3 separate regions of the Homo sapiens genome follow, and regions 1 and 3 are each linked to region 2. The links are contacts of gene promoters, found by promoter capture Hi-C in blood cells and fetal thymus (Javierre and others, 2016). All regions are on one chromosome and are shown on one strand. The core of a region is centred on a gene start or on the middle of the fragment in contact, and the rest is flanking DNA. Distances in the headings are between cores, read along the strand shown. Region 1 overlaps UPF3B (UPF3B regulator of nonsense mediated mRNA decay). Region 2 holds the start of STEEP1 (STING1 ER exit protein 1). Region 3 overlaps NKAP (NFKB activating protein).

Region 1 (4,425 bases), core at 1,911-4,410, 270 kb before region 2:
TAAATTTAAGATCATTTAAAAGGATAAAGTAGTATGTTATTTCTTCAGTGCAGATCTGTGCTGTTTTTGTCATTGAAAATGTTGGATTTTTAGACTATTGTCCTCTAAATTCATAGTAAATGAGGGCTTAGGGCTGGCTGGCATGATTTATGGTTTTTTTTCAGCTTTTTCTTCATAATTGATACATGAAGTTACCTCATCTGTTTGTTTTCCACTGTCTTCAGGTACACAGGTTTCTGTTACAAGCTGTGAATCAGAAAAATGTAAGGACCAAGTACATGATACAGAGCATCTAGTATCATGTCACACACACAGGTCTTAGCTAATAAGTCCTTTTGGTGGTGGTGGTGGTAGTGTTACTTGTTGAAAACCCCTTCAGGTTGACTTGAGTCTTCTTAAAAGCTGAGCTATTTTATTATAAATTTCTACTTTAAAAGGAAGCCCAGGTGACTTCCTGATGCTCTGCTGTGTGCCCAGAAGCTTCATTGACCTACAGCCAGAGGACAACCATGCCTATATAGTTCTTTCTCATCTTCTTATATGCTTCTCATAACTGGCTGCCTTGTGGGAGGACTAGGGATAAATACCCTGCAATATGTGCCTTTCCCTCTCACATGACTCCCGTAGTATCTTCCTGCATATATCTGGGAATCTGTGAGCAGCAGATTCGGATTCATGCATTGCATTTGGGAAGAAGAAAACCTGCAGAAAGATCCCAACCTTGCCACTTCCCTTCTAAGGGCATGGCTTGGGCAGCCCTTGTTTCAACATATTTCCTGGGGAAGTACTAGTACCTAGCACTTCAGATAAAGTCAAAGAAAATCTCACAGAGAGGGTGGCAGGGTCTCCTTATTTTATTTCCTGAAAACTCAGCAGTTTATGTAGCAAGGGTTCCCTAAGTCTCTACGGGGCTCATTACTGATGATGAGGGGCTTGGGGGAGGATGGAGTTTCTCATCTTAATTCTTTCCAGCAATCTCTCTGTCTGCTATGCCACAAGTGACTTGACTTGCTATTCCTAACAATCAGCAAGGCAGAAGGTAGAGCCAGCCATGCTAGAGACATTCATTAATGTTCTTATTAGAGTAATGAACACCTTGGTTTCTAATAAGGATGTTCATTGGAGAAATAAGAGCACTTCCAATGAAACCTGCACATGGTATCCTCATTTTACACTGGTGCCTTCTCAGTGTCCATTTTGGACTCACCATTTGCAGTGGCTGTCTGTGTGCCAAAATGCTTTGTGCTTATGTCTTGTGGTGCTTTGCCTTTTGCTTAGTAATTTACATGATGCCTTCACCCTGAGATGAACCTTGTGTGATACCTTCACTCTGAGACTTGAAATTCTTCTATTTTGCCTAAGAATCTCTCTGATTATCCGACACTTGGAGGTATTCTCGAGAGATTCATAGCAGCAATGTAAAAAACAATGGCATTTTTGAACATGCGTAAATATGGCATTAAATACAGAGTTCCTACTCAGTAGAGATGGAACTTCACTATTTGGTTGTATAAGGCCTTTAGATTTTTAAATCAAATGCCAAATAATTCTTGTTATTAATCTCTAATGGCAAGATAATTGTACCATCATAAGTATGTTATTCTCAGGCTCAAGGCAAAATTATTCCTGCAATGGATCTCTCCTTTGGTGACCAAGGTATTTGTCATTCCAAGTACTACATAAAAACAGTCCCAACAGAAACGATCTGCCTATCACTTAAAATTTGTGGGCTGTTTCCCATTAAGTTATATCAACATGCTGGTTTGCTACAGAAGCATACTTTGAAGTATGCATTGGTTCACTTAAAGGTTGACCCATTTAAAGCCAAAGGAAGCCGGGCACAGTGGCTCACACCTGTAATCTCAGCACTGTGGGAGGCCGAGGCAGAAGGATGGTGTGAGCCCAGAAGTTTGAGAACAGCCTGGGTGACATGATGAGACCTTGTCTCTACAAAAAAATTAAAAAATTAGCCATATGTGGTGGTGTGCATCTGTTGTCCTAGCTACTCAAGAGGCTGAGGCAGGAGGACCACTTAAGCCCAGGAGGTCAAGGTTGCGGTGAGCCATGTTCATGCCACTGCACTCCAGCATGGGCAACAGAGTAGTGAGACCCTGCCTCAGAATAAAAGCCAAAGGAGTCTTGATCCTATTGCCACAAAGTGATTAAACCACTTCGTTCAAGTGGATAACACTTTAACATTAATAGCATCCTTTTAGTAAATTACTACTCTTATGCACTAGTTGTTCACCTGAAAGATTAAGTGTACCTGCAGAGATAGGGGGCTTTGTCTAGTCTAAATTTTAAATATTTGGTATACTGGGTTTTTAATAGAAGATAGTGTCCCAGCCTTCAAAATAAAAATAAACATTTTATCTTTAAAGCTGCTCAAGAAGCCAGAAAAAGGAGATGAAAAAGAATTGGACAAAAGAGAAAAAGCCAAGAAATTGGACAAAGAGAATCTCAGTGATGAAAGAGCCAGTGGGCAAAGTTGTACATTGCCCAAGCGTTCTGATAGCGAACTTAAAGATGAAAAACCAAAGAGGTCAGTAGTCAAGGACTCTTTGTTATGTTTGATTTATACATGCTAGTTTTGCTGCTATGTCCTGGACATGTACCTGAATTAAGATAAGCTGTTTTATGCAGGGCAGGGGGATGAGGAGGAACAGTTTCAGAATATTCTTGTATCTTAATCTGGGTGAATGGTTTTGGGGTTTTGTTCCTTCTTAAAACACTAGTATTTTTCACTCTGCTCTAAAAGTGCAACCTCATTGCAGGGGCCAAATCAGAATCACAGTGTTCCTGCATTTGTGATTACAAGATCTTTCAGGGTTCTGTCTCAGATTTGTTTTTCATGCAGACCTGAAGATGAGAGCGGCAGAGACTATAGGGAGAGGGAACGGGAATATGAACGAGATCAGGAGCGCATACTTCGAGAAAGAGAGAGGCTGAAGCGGCAAGAAGAAGAGCGCCGTAGGCAGAAGGAGCGCTATGAGAAAGAGAAGACTTTTAAGAGAAAAGAAGAAGAAATGAAAAAAGAGAAAGACACACTTCGGGATAAAGGAAAGAAGGCTGAAAGTACAGAATCAATAGGCAGCTCAGAAAAAACTGAAAAGAAAGAAGAAGTGGTCAAGAGAGATCGAATAAGAAACAAGGTGCTGCTTGTCATTAAACTTGTTTATGAGGGTTTTTTTCCCTTTTCCTGCAAGTGTAAAGAAAGTGTAAAGGGCACTGTTATTATAGAATTTTTAAAGGGGAACTTTAATCATCTGCAACTTTTTTTTTTTTTTTTTTTTGAGACAGAGTCTGACTATGTTGCCCAGGCTGGAGTGCAGTGGCACAATCTCGGCTCACTGCAAGCTCCGCCTCCTGGGTTCACGCCATTCTTCTGCTTCAGCCTCCCAAGTAGCTGGGACTACAGGCGCCCACCACCACGCCTGACTTATTTTTTTGTATTTTTAGTAGAGACAGGGTTTCACCGTGTTAGCCAGGATGGTCTTGATCTCCTGACCTCGTGATCCACCTGCCTCAGCCTCCCAAAGTGCTGGGATTACAGGCGTGAGCCACCACGCCTGACCAACTTTTATTTCAGTCTTGGCTGGGCTTTTATTAACTTACTATAGAAATTGTAAACATACACAAAAGTAGAATAGAGAATAGTATGATGGGCCAGGTGCAGTGGCTCACACCTGTAATCCTAGCACTTTGGGAGGCTGAGGTGGGTGGATTGCTAGAGCCTAGGAGTTCTAGACCAGCCTGGCCAACATGGTGAAACCCCGTCTCTACTAAAAATACAAAAAATCGGCTGGATGTGGTGGCGCACACCTGTAATCTCAGCTACTCGGGAGGCTGAGGCAGAAGAATCACTTGAACCTGGGAGGTGGAGGTTGAGGTGAGCCGAGATCACGCCATTGTATTCTAGCCTGGGCAACAGAGCGAGACTCAGTCTCAAAAAAAAAACTGGCCGGGCGCGGTGGCTCACGCCTGTAATCCCAGCACTTTGGGAGGCCAAGACGGGTGGATCACGAGGTCAGGAGATCAAGACCATCCTGGCTAACATGGTGAAACCCCATCTCTACTAAAAATACAAAAAATTAGCCAGGCGTGGTGGCGGGCGCCTGTAGTCCCAGCTACTCGGGAGGCTGAGGCAGGAAAATGGCGTGAACCTGGGAGGCGGAGCTTGCAGTGAGCCGAGATCGCGTCACTGCACTCCAGCACGGGCAACAGAGCGAGACTCTGTCTCAAAAAAAAAAAAAAAATCGAATAGTATGATGAACTCCATGTACTGTACCCATCACCCAGCAGTTCATAGCCAACCTTCTTTCTATTCTACTTCATCCCTACCCCTACTAGATTATTTTCAAACAAACCCTGCACATAATTTCTTCCTTAAATACTTCAGTATATGAGATAAATACTCTATTAATA
Region 2 (4,345 bases), core at 928-3,427:
AGGTGGGAGGATCACTTGAGCCCAGGAGTTTGAGGCTGCAGTGAGCTGTGATCATGCCACTGCACTCCAGCCTGGGTGACAGAGCAAGACCCTGTCTCAAAAACAAAAACAAAAACAAAGCAAATGATTTCAAGTGGTTTTCCTTGGCTCCTGATGAATGTTTACCAATATTACTCAGTTGTTGTTTTTTACTCAAGGAGTCAATGTTGACTTTAAAGTGACTGAAGAATTGGACCGGGCGTGGTGGCTCACGCCTGTAATCTCAGCACTTTGGGAGGCCGATGTGGGCAGATCACTTGAGGTGAGGAGTTTGAGATCAGCCTGACCAACATGGTGAAACCCTGCCTCTACTAAAAATACAAAAAAAAAAAAAAAAAAAAAAATTAGCCAGGCATGGTGGCATGTGCCTGTAATCCCAGTTACTCAGGAGGCTGAGGCAGGAGAGTTGATTGAACCTGGGCGGTGGAGGTTGCAGTGAGCCAAGATTGTGCCACTGCACTCCAGCCAGCCTGGGTGACAGAGCCAGACTCTGTCTCAAAAAAAAAAAAAAAAAAAAAAATTGGCCTGGGTGTATGGTCTTGTGTGGAACAACTGCAGATGAGAGTATTTCAAAGAAGTCAGGAAAACACTAATTCAATTCAGTCTAAAGCATAATTTGCTAAGATGTATTACAAATATGTATGGAGCAGAAAAGGTTTAGACAAATGTACAATACTTGTCAAAATGTAAGTTGTTTAAAATCCTGTAGTTATTAATTGTATTATTAAACAGCAGGTACTTTGCAACAAACAAACAAACAAACTTGAATCTGTCTTGTGTTATTCTTGACAGTAGTGTCAACAGTGAAGTTCAGCTGGGCGCGGTGGCTCACACCTGTAATCCCAGCACTTTGGGAGACCAAGGTGGGTGGATCACGAGGTCAGGAGTTCAAGATTTTAGAAAATTTGAATTTGAATTTGAATTCAAAATTTTAGAAAATTTTCTAAATGAGAAGAACCCCACCCTTGACCACTATTATTGAACATGAATAGTTTTAAAAAATGGCTTTTGCCATAGACTTAGTAATGTTCCTTAATGAATTTAACCTAAAATTACAAGGCAAAACAGTGTTTATACCTGAAACCTGTACTGCAGTAAAGTCATTCAATGACATCCCACATTGTTTGAATCACAAACAGTGTCAAGGTGCTTTAATCACTTCTCGTGCTGTCAAAAGTTAAAAATCCAGATTTATATTCCCACACAAATTTGCGGTGGAAGTATTCTTGTACATGAATGTTCATAGCAGCATTATCTATATAATAACCAAAAAGTGAAAACATCCCCGTTGTCTGCCAATTGATGAATGAACAAAATGTGATATATCCATATGATGAAATATTATTCAACCATAAAAAGGAAAGAAGTACTGTAACATGGATGAACCTTGAAAACATTATGGTAAATGAAAGAAGCCAGACAAATGGCCACATATTGTAGGATTCCATTTATATGAAATGTCCAGAATAGGCAAATCCATAGAGATAAAAAGTAGATTAGTGGTTGCCGTGGGCTGGGAAGGTGGGGGATGTGCGGGTCGTGGTGACTACTAATGGGTATAAGATTTCTTTTTGAGATGATGGAAATGTTCTGGAATTAGTGGTGATGGTTACACAACTTTGTGAATACACTAAAAAACACCCAATTACACATTTTAAAAGGGTGAATTTTATGTTACGTGAATTATATCAACTAAAAAATAAGATACCTAAAAAATTATGTACTCATCTGGAATAGTCATTAAAATCACAATCATATTTAGAAACACACCCAAATCAGTATCATATATATATATATATATATATAATATAAACTATATAATGCATAGTCCTTTATTTAGCTGGTCTTATATATACATATGTGTATATATACATATAAATGCATGCGTTATAGAAATGTAAAGAATTTATATAATATTAAGGGTGTTGTGAGAAAGCCCACCAATCTTCATTGAGAAGTGACTCCCAGATCACAGGAGTCCCAGCTAACTTGGCCAAGACAAAGTAGGTTCTGGGAGGCTCCAGGCGCACCCCCGTATATCTTAGCCTGATAGGACAGCCCGGAAGTTTATAAGACTTCTGCTAACACGTGACCAGCGTAGCCACAAGGAAAAGGTGCAAGGCGCACTCGTGACGTCATTTCGGGGCGACCCTCTTCTTGGCGTAGAGTTTTCAGATTGCTCTTGGGAATCATGCCGAAAGTAGTGTCTCGGTCAGTAGTCTGCTCTGACACTCGGGACCGGGAGGAATATGACGACGGCGAGAAGCCCCTCCATGTTTACTACTGTTTGTGCGGCCAGATGGTCCTAGTGCTGGGTGAGTAGCCGGGAACTGCGGGGGCGTCTGCAAGGAGCCAGACTTCGGGTTCTTGAAGGCGAATTTCCTCTGGCTGTGATCTGGGAGCCACTTCTCAACGAAGATTGGTGGGTTTTCTCTCTCCGACTAAATCCTCCCTACGCATCCCCGCCCCACTCCAGGGCATTTTTTTTTTTCCTGCTTTTTGTTTAGCCTTGTGACTCTGTATCCAGACCTTCCTCAAAACTAAACTCCTTCAGGAGAACAAAAATAGAAACACAAACATATTGTATTTCCCTCTTAATCCACTGTCTTCAAAAACTACTGCCTCTAGAAGCTTTATAACTTTTCTGCTGGATACCAAGATGCTGCAGTTGCTCTTACCTCACAGCAAACGAAAATAAAACCCTCCCTCGATCCTGTATTCCCCTCCAGCTATAACCCCATTTCGTTGCTTCTTTTATAGCAAAGCTTCTCAAAAGAGTTGCCTATATTGGCTGTCTCTGCATCCTGACTTCTAATTCTCTCCTGACCTCACTTCAGGTAGGCTTTCCTTCCCACCTCATCATCTTAACCGTATTTGGCTCCATGTTAACAGTTCTAGTGGTCAGTTATCAATGTTCATTTTAATTCTGTCAGTGGCATTTGACAGAGGTAATCATTTCATTCCTTTTGCAACATGTTTTTTATTTGCTTCCAAGACTCCATACTCACTTGATTTTCCTCCTACCTCGTATTTCCCCCCCCCCTTTTTTTTCAGATGGAGTCTCACTCTGCTGCCCAGGCTGGAGTGCAGTGGTGCAATCTCGGCTCACTGCAAGCTCTGCCTCCCGGATTCAAGTGATTCTCCTGCCTCAGCCTCCCGAGTAGCTGGGATTACAGGCGCCCGCCACCATGCCCGGCTAATTTTTGTGTTTTTAGTAGAGACGGGGGTTTCACTACGTTGGCCAGGCTGGTCTCGAACTCCTGACCTCGTGATCCACCCGCCTCGGCCTCCCAAGGTGCTGGGATTACAGGCGTGAGCCACCGCGCCCAGCCTTAGATTTTTCCCCTTGTCTGGCTCCCTTTTCTCTCTCAGACTTTTAGGCATTCCAAGGCCCTATAGCTCAGTACTCTCACCTGTTCTCACTCTGTACCCACCCCCTAGGTGATCTCATTCATTCCCAAGCTTTAAATACAACTGACATGCTGGTAACTCCCAGATGTTCATCTTTAACCTGCACCTCTCCTGAGACTCCAATTGCCTATTCAACATCTCCACTTGAATGTCTAATGGGCCTCTCAAATATATCGTGCTGAAAATTGAGTTCATGACCCTCTACACCCCCTCTCCAATTGCTCCTCTTATAGTCATCCCTATTGCAGTCAGTAGTACAACTATTCATCCAGTATCTCAGACCAAAACCTGGAATCAGTCTTGACTTCTGTCTGTCACGTACCTTACATCTGTCCAGTCCATCAGGAAATCCTGCAGGTGCTTTCGTGAAAATGTATGCAGGATCTGACTGCTTCTTACCACCTCCATTCCTTTTTCTTTTTGAGACAGAGGGAGTCTCACTCTGTCACCCAGGCTGGAGTGCTGTGGCGCGGTCTCAGCTCACTGCAACTTCCGCCTCCCAGGTTCAAGCGATTCTCCTGCCTCAGCCTCCCAAGTAGTGTGCGCCACCAGGCCCGGCTAGTTTTTTTTTTTTTCTTTTTTTTTTTGAGATGGAGTTTCGCTCTTCTTGCCCAGGCTGGAGTGCAGTGGTGCGATCTCGGCTCACTGCAACTTCCACCTCCCAGGTTCAAGCGATTCTCCTGCCTCAACCTCCCTAGTAGCTGGGATTACAGGCATGTGCCACCACGCCCGGCTAATTTTGTATTTTTAGTAGAGATGGGGTTTCACCATGTTGGCCAGACTGGTCTTGAACTCCTGACCTCAAGTGATCCACCCACCTAGGCCTCCCAAAGTGCTGGGATTACAGGCATGAGCCACCACGGCCGGCCTACCACCTCCACTTCTAACACTGTAG
Region 3 (4,123 bases), core at 1,408-3,907, 370 kb before region 2:
TTTAAAAAAAAAACAAAAACCCATAACCAGAATGCTATTATTGTGCCTAAAACATTTAATAATAATTCCTCTATTCTCAGCAGTTTTTTCTGTAGTTTATTCCAATCAGGATCCAAATAATGTCCCTAAATTGCAGTGACCGTATTCTTATGGTATTCTTTGGCATGTTCTGTCCTCTGTATTTCCAATAGATTAATAGGTCTAGAGGCCTGAGAAGGCTCAGATTTGAGTTGGGGCAAGAATACTTCATAAGTGGTGCTGTTTACTGTCAGGAGGCAAATAATGTCTGGTTGTCACTTTTTGTCATATTAACAGCCATTGATGGTCATTATCTCGATCCATTATTTCATTAGGGGTTGTAAAATGGTGATAGTCTAATCCTGGCTTTATCCTTCATTTATTAGGCAGAATGATTCTATAAGAGAAACTTACCCTCATCAACTATTTAGATACCCTGAAATATAGTTTATATTGTAAGAGCAGGATAATTGCTTGATTTTTTTTGTTTTAATGACTTTTCAAATAATGAATTGGATTTTTAAAAAGTATTATTAACCCAAGGATTTAAACATATTTGACATATTTTAATCCATTACACATAAAATTATTCATAATGTTCAAATTGTTGGGACTTTTTAGGCTGTTTTATTTCTGTTGTCTTTCTACAACATCAGAACTGTATTTCATTGTTCCCTTTAGTGAATTTTTTTTTTTTTGAGACCGTGTCTCACCCTGTCACCCAGGCTGGAATGCAGTGGCACGATCACAGCTCACTACAACCTCAACCTTCCAGGATCAAGCCATCCTCCCACCTCTGCCCCCACTTTCCCCATACCTGGGACTACAGGCGTGTGCCACCACACCTGGCTAATTTTTGTATTTTTTGTAGAGACACGGTTTCGTCATGTTGCCCAGGGCTAGTTTCTAACCCCTGGGCTCAAGTGACCCACCCGCCTCAGTCTTCCAATGTGCTGGGATTACAGGGGTGAAACACTACACCCAGCCTCCTTTAGTGATAATTTTTATAGCAAAAGATGATTTGGTTAAATAAGTTAGAATACTTTTTAAAAAAATTCTTAAGAGGCAGTGTCTCGCTCTGTTGCCCAGACTGGAGTGCAGTGGGCTAATCATAGCTCATTGCAGCCTCGAACTCCTGGGCTCAAGTGATCCTCCCGCCTCAGCCTCCTGAATAGCTTAGACTACAGATGTGTGCCATCACACCCAGCTACTTTTTTTTTTTTTTAATAGAGACGGGGTCTTGCTCTGTTTCCCAGGTTCAGTTAGAAGCAGATTTTTTTAAGTAAAATTATCTTGTAAGTTTGAATAAGCTGGGAATTCAGATCATTTTATTGTCACCTTTCTTTGCCTTGAAAAATTAAGATGTATAGTCACCAGTTCAAAATTTAAAAAGAAAAGAAAAATTAAGATGCCCTCTAACATAGGAAGATTAAGTGAATTTGTATCAAATTAAAATCCCTATAGGAAGAAATATAAGAAAAAGAGGTCTAAGAAGAGCAGAAAAGAGTCCAGTGATTCAAGCTCTAAAGAATCCCAAGAAGAGTTTCTGGAAAATCCCTGGAAGGATCGAACAAGTAGGTTCTTCTGATAGACTAACTCAGAACAGATGAAACATTAAAGTAACCAATTAGTCAGAATGTGAATGTGTTTCTTAATATCTTTCATGCAGAGGCTGAAGAACCATCAGATTTAATTGGCCCAGAGGCTCCAAAAACACTTACCTCTCAAGATGATAAACCTTTGAAGTAAGCAGCAGTGTGTTTATAATATCTAAAGTACCTACCAAAAAGTCTGGTTCTAACTTACCTTGCCAAGCTTATCTGACTCTATTCCCTTATTTCTACTCCAGGTTCCAGCTGAGCTGGACTACTAAATATTCCCTGGGCTTAATGTGCACTTTGCAACTTTTATGCCATGTTCAGCTTATTTCTTCATCCAGTATGCCTTCCCTTCTTTTCCCTGCCCTCTGTTTTCTTCCCTATCGCCAGTTTCTTCCTGTTAAAATCCTTACTATCCTTCGAAGCCCTTTTCAAAAGGAGATGCATATGCTGATTCCCAATACTTCCCCTCCACAAGTAGGTGTGATTTCTGTTTCTCTTTGATCCTCACAGAATTTTTTATTCCTTTTTTTCTCTTTTTTCTTTTTTTACCAGCAGAATTTTTTTTTCTTTTTGTGAGACGGAGTCTCGCTCTGTTGCCCAGGCTGGAGTTTAGTGGCGTGATCTTGGCTCACTGCAACCTCTGCCTCCCAGGTTCAAGCGATTCTCCTGCCTCAGCCTCCTGAGTAACTGGGATTACAGGCACGCGCCACCACACTCAGCTAATTTTTTTTTGTATTTTCAGTAGAGATACGGTTTTACCATGTTGGTCAGGCTGGTCTCAAATTCCTGACCTCATGATCCACCTGCCTCAGCCTCCCAAAGTGCTGGGATTACAGGCGTGAGCCACCGCACCTGGTCTAGAATTTTTTTTTTGTTTGTTTTGTTTTGTTTTTTTGAGATGGAGTCTCACTCTGTCTCCCAGGCTGAAGCACAGTGGTGTGATTGAGTTTCACTCTGTTGCCCAGGCTGGAGTGCAGTGGCATGATCTTGGCTCACTGCAACCTCCACCTCCCAGATTCAAGTGATTCTCCTGCCTCAGCCTCCCAAGTAGCCAGGATTACAGGCGCCTGCCGCCACGCCCGGACTAATTTTTGTATTTTTAGTAGAGCTGGGGTTTCGCCATGTTGGCCAGTATGGTCTCGAACTCCTGATCTCAAGTGATCTGCCCGCCTCAACCTCCAAAAATGCTGAGATTACAGGCGTCAGCCACTGCACCCAGCCTACTTTGTTTTTTTTTTTTGTTTTGTTTTGTTTTGTTTTTTGAGACAAAGCCTTACTCTGTCGCCCAGGCTGGAGTGCAGTGACACGATCTCGGCTCACTGCAACCTCTGCCTCCCAGGTTCAAGTGATTCTCCTGCCTCAGCCTCCTGAGTAGCTGGGACTACAAGCATGCACCACCATGCCCGGCTAATTTTGTATTTTTAGTAGAGACGGGGTTTCGCTATGTTGGCCAGGCTGCTCTCAAGCTCCTGATCTCAGGTGATCCTCCCGCCTCAGCCTCCCAAAGTGTTCAGATTGTAGGCGTGAGCCACTGTGCCTGGCATACTTTGGATTTTTTAAGGGAAAAAGGGAAAGGGAATCAGCTGGAGCCAGAACCAGTAATGACAATACCTGTAGGGATAAATTAATCCATAATTGTAAACTGTGAATCTATACTCACAGCAGTTCTTTTCTTTCAAAATATTTCTGCATTTCTGGGTTAGTTGTATAGGTCATAGTGCAATGCAATGTTTAATACACTAATTAGGATAAAGCAATTCACATTGAGCTTCCTAGCACACTACTGCTGAGCACTGTTATTCCTACTCTTGTTTGAGAGAAAATGTGGGGATTTTTGGTGCTCTCTTTAGATTATAAGCTTTTAATATTAAGATGATTTAATGGACCTTTTCTGAATTCTGAATTACTTTGTAGCTATGGCCATGCTCTGTTACCTGGTGAAGGTGCAGCTATGGCTGAATATGTAAAAGCTGGAAAACGTATCCCACGAAGAGGTGAAATTGGCTTGACAAGTGAAGAAATTGCATCATTTGAATGCTCAGGTTATGTAATGAGTGGTAGCAGGTATGTTGTTGGCATTAAGCTCAGTTTCCATGATTAGATCTTTTTCTTCTTTTTTACTACCAGAATTATATTTTGGTAATTGATTTTCATTAAGTGACTGTTTCTTATGAAAAGTAGAGTATAAATATTGGTTTGATATTAGTGTTGTTAGTATAACATGGTTTTCTGCAATTCCAAGTATATATGCAACTCAGCCTCAAACTCAGCTATATCTCTGACTTCAAAGAATCAATCTTCCTAATGTCCTTTCCTAGTTGGTATTTGCTTACAGATATTTTATCCACTGGAGGATATAGTTAAATTCAGCTATTTATCACTGCCCCATGAGGAATGTGGCAGTTAGGAAAATATTTTCACAAGACAGTGTTTCCTGGTTACAAGTTTGTCTTCAGTTTTTTATGGACCCAGATTTCTGAGACTGAATAACAGAAAAAGATGAT

What was found. Contacts are between HindIII fragments. The CHiCAGO score rates a contact against its expected background, and 5 or more counts as called.
Region 1: a fragment that was not itself captured here is called in contact with the fragment with the promoter of STEEP1 in region 2 in 2 of 17 cell types (total CD4 T cells and naive CD8 T cells); the score reaches 6.7 in total CD4 T cells.
Region 3: a contact is called between a fragment that was not itself captured here and the fragment with the promoter of STEEP1 in region 2, in 1 of 17 cell types (naive CD8 T cells). The highest score is 5.2, in naive CD8 T cells.

The regions. Positions count from the first base shown.
Region 1 is chrX:119,836,484-119,840,908 of GRCh38, reverse strand. It overlaps UPF3B (UPF3B regulator of nonsense mediated mRNA decay), which reads left to right. Exons shown (of 11, transcript NM_080632.3): 8 at 225-263; 9 at 2,382-2,542; 10 at 2,858-3,152. Among named protein-coding and RNA genes, the nearest start is that of UPF3B, 14 kb to the left of the region's middle. The HindIII fragment of the contact is 5,356 bases long and covers 483-4,425 here.
Region 2 is chrX:119,563,241-119,567,585 of GRCh38, reverse strand. STEEP1 (STING1 ER exit protein 1) reads left to right here and starts at 2,177. Exons shown (of 7, transcript NM_022101.4): 1 at 2,177-2,354. The coding sequence starts at 2,231. The HindIII fragment of the contact is 7,229 bases long and covers 1-2,672 here.
Region 3 is chrX:119,929,576-119,933,698 of GRCh38, reverse strand. It overlaps NKAP (NFKB activating protein), which reads left to right. Exons shown (of 9, transcript NM_024528.4): 6 at 1,483-1,592; 7 at 1,688-1,763; 8 at 3,534-3,683. Among named protein-coding and RNA genes, the nearest start is that of NKAP, 12 kb to the left of the region's middle. The HindIII fragment of the contact is 1,644 bases long and covers 1,836-3,479 here.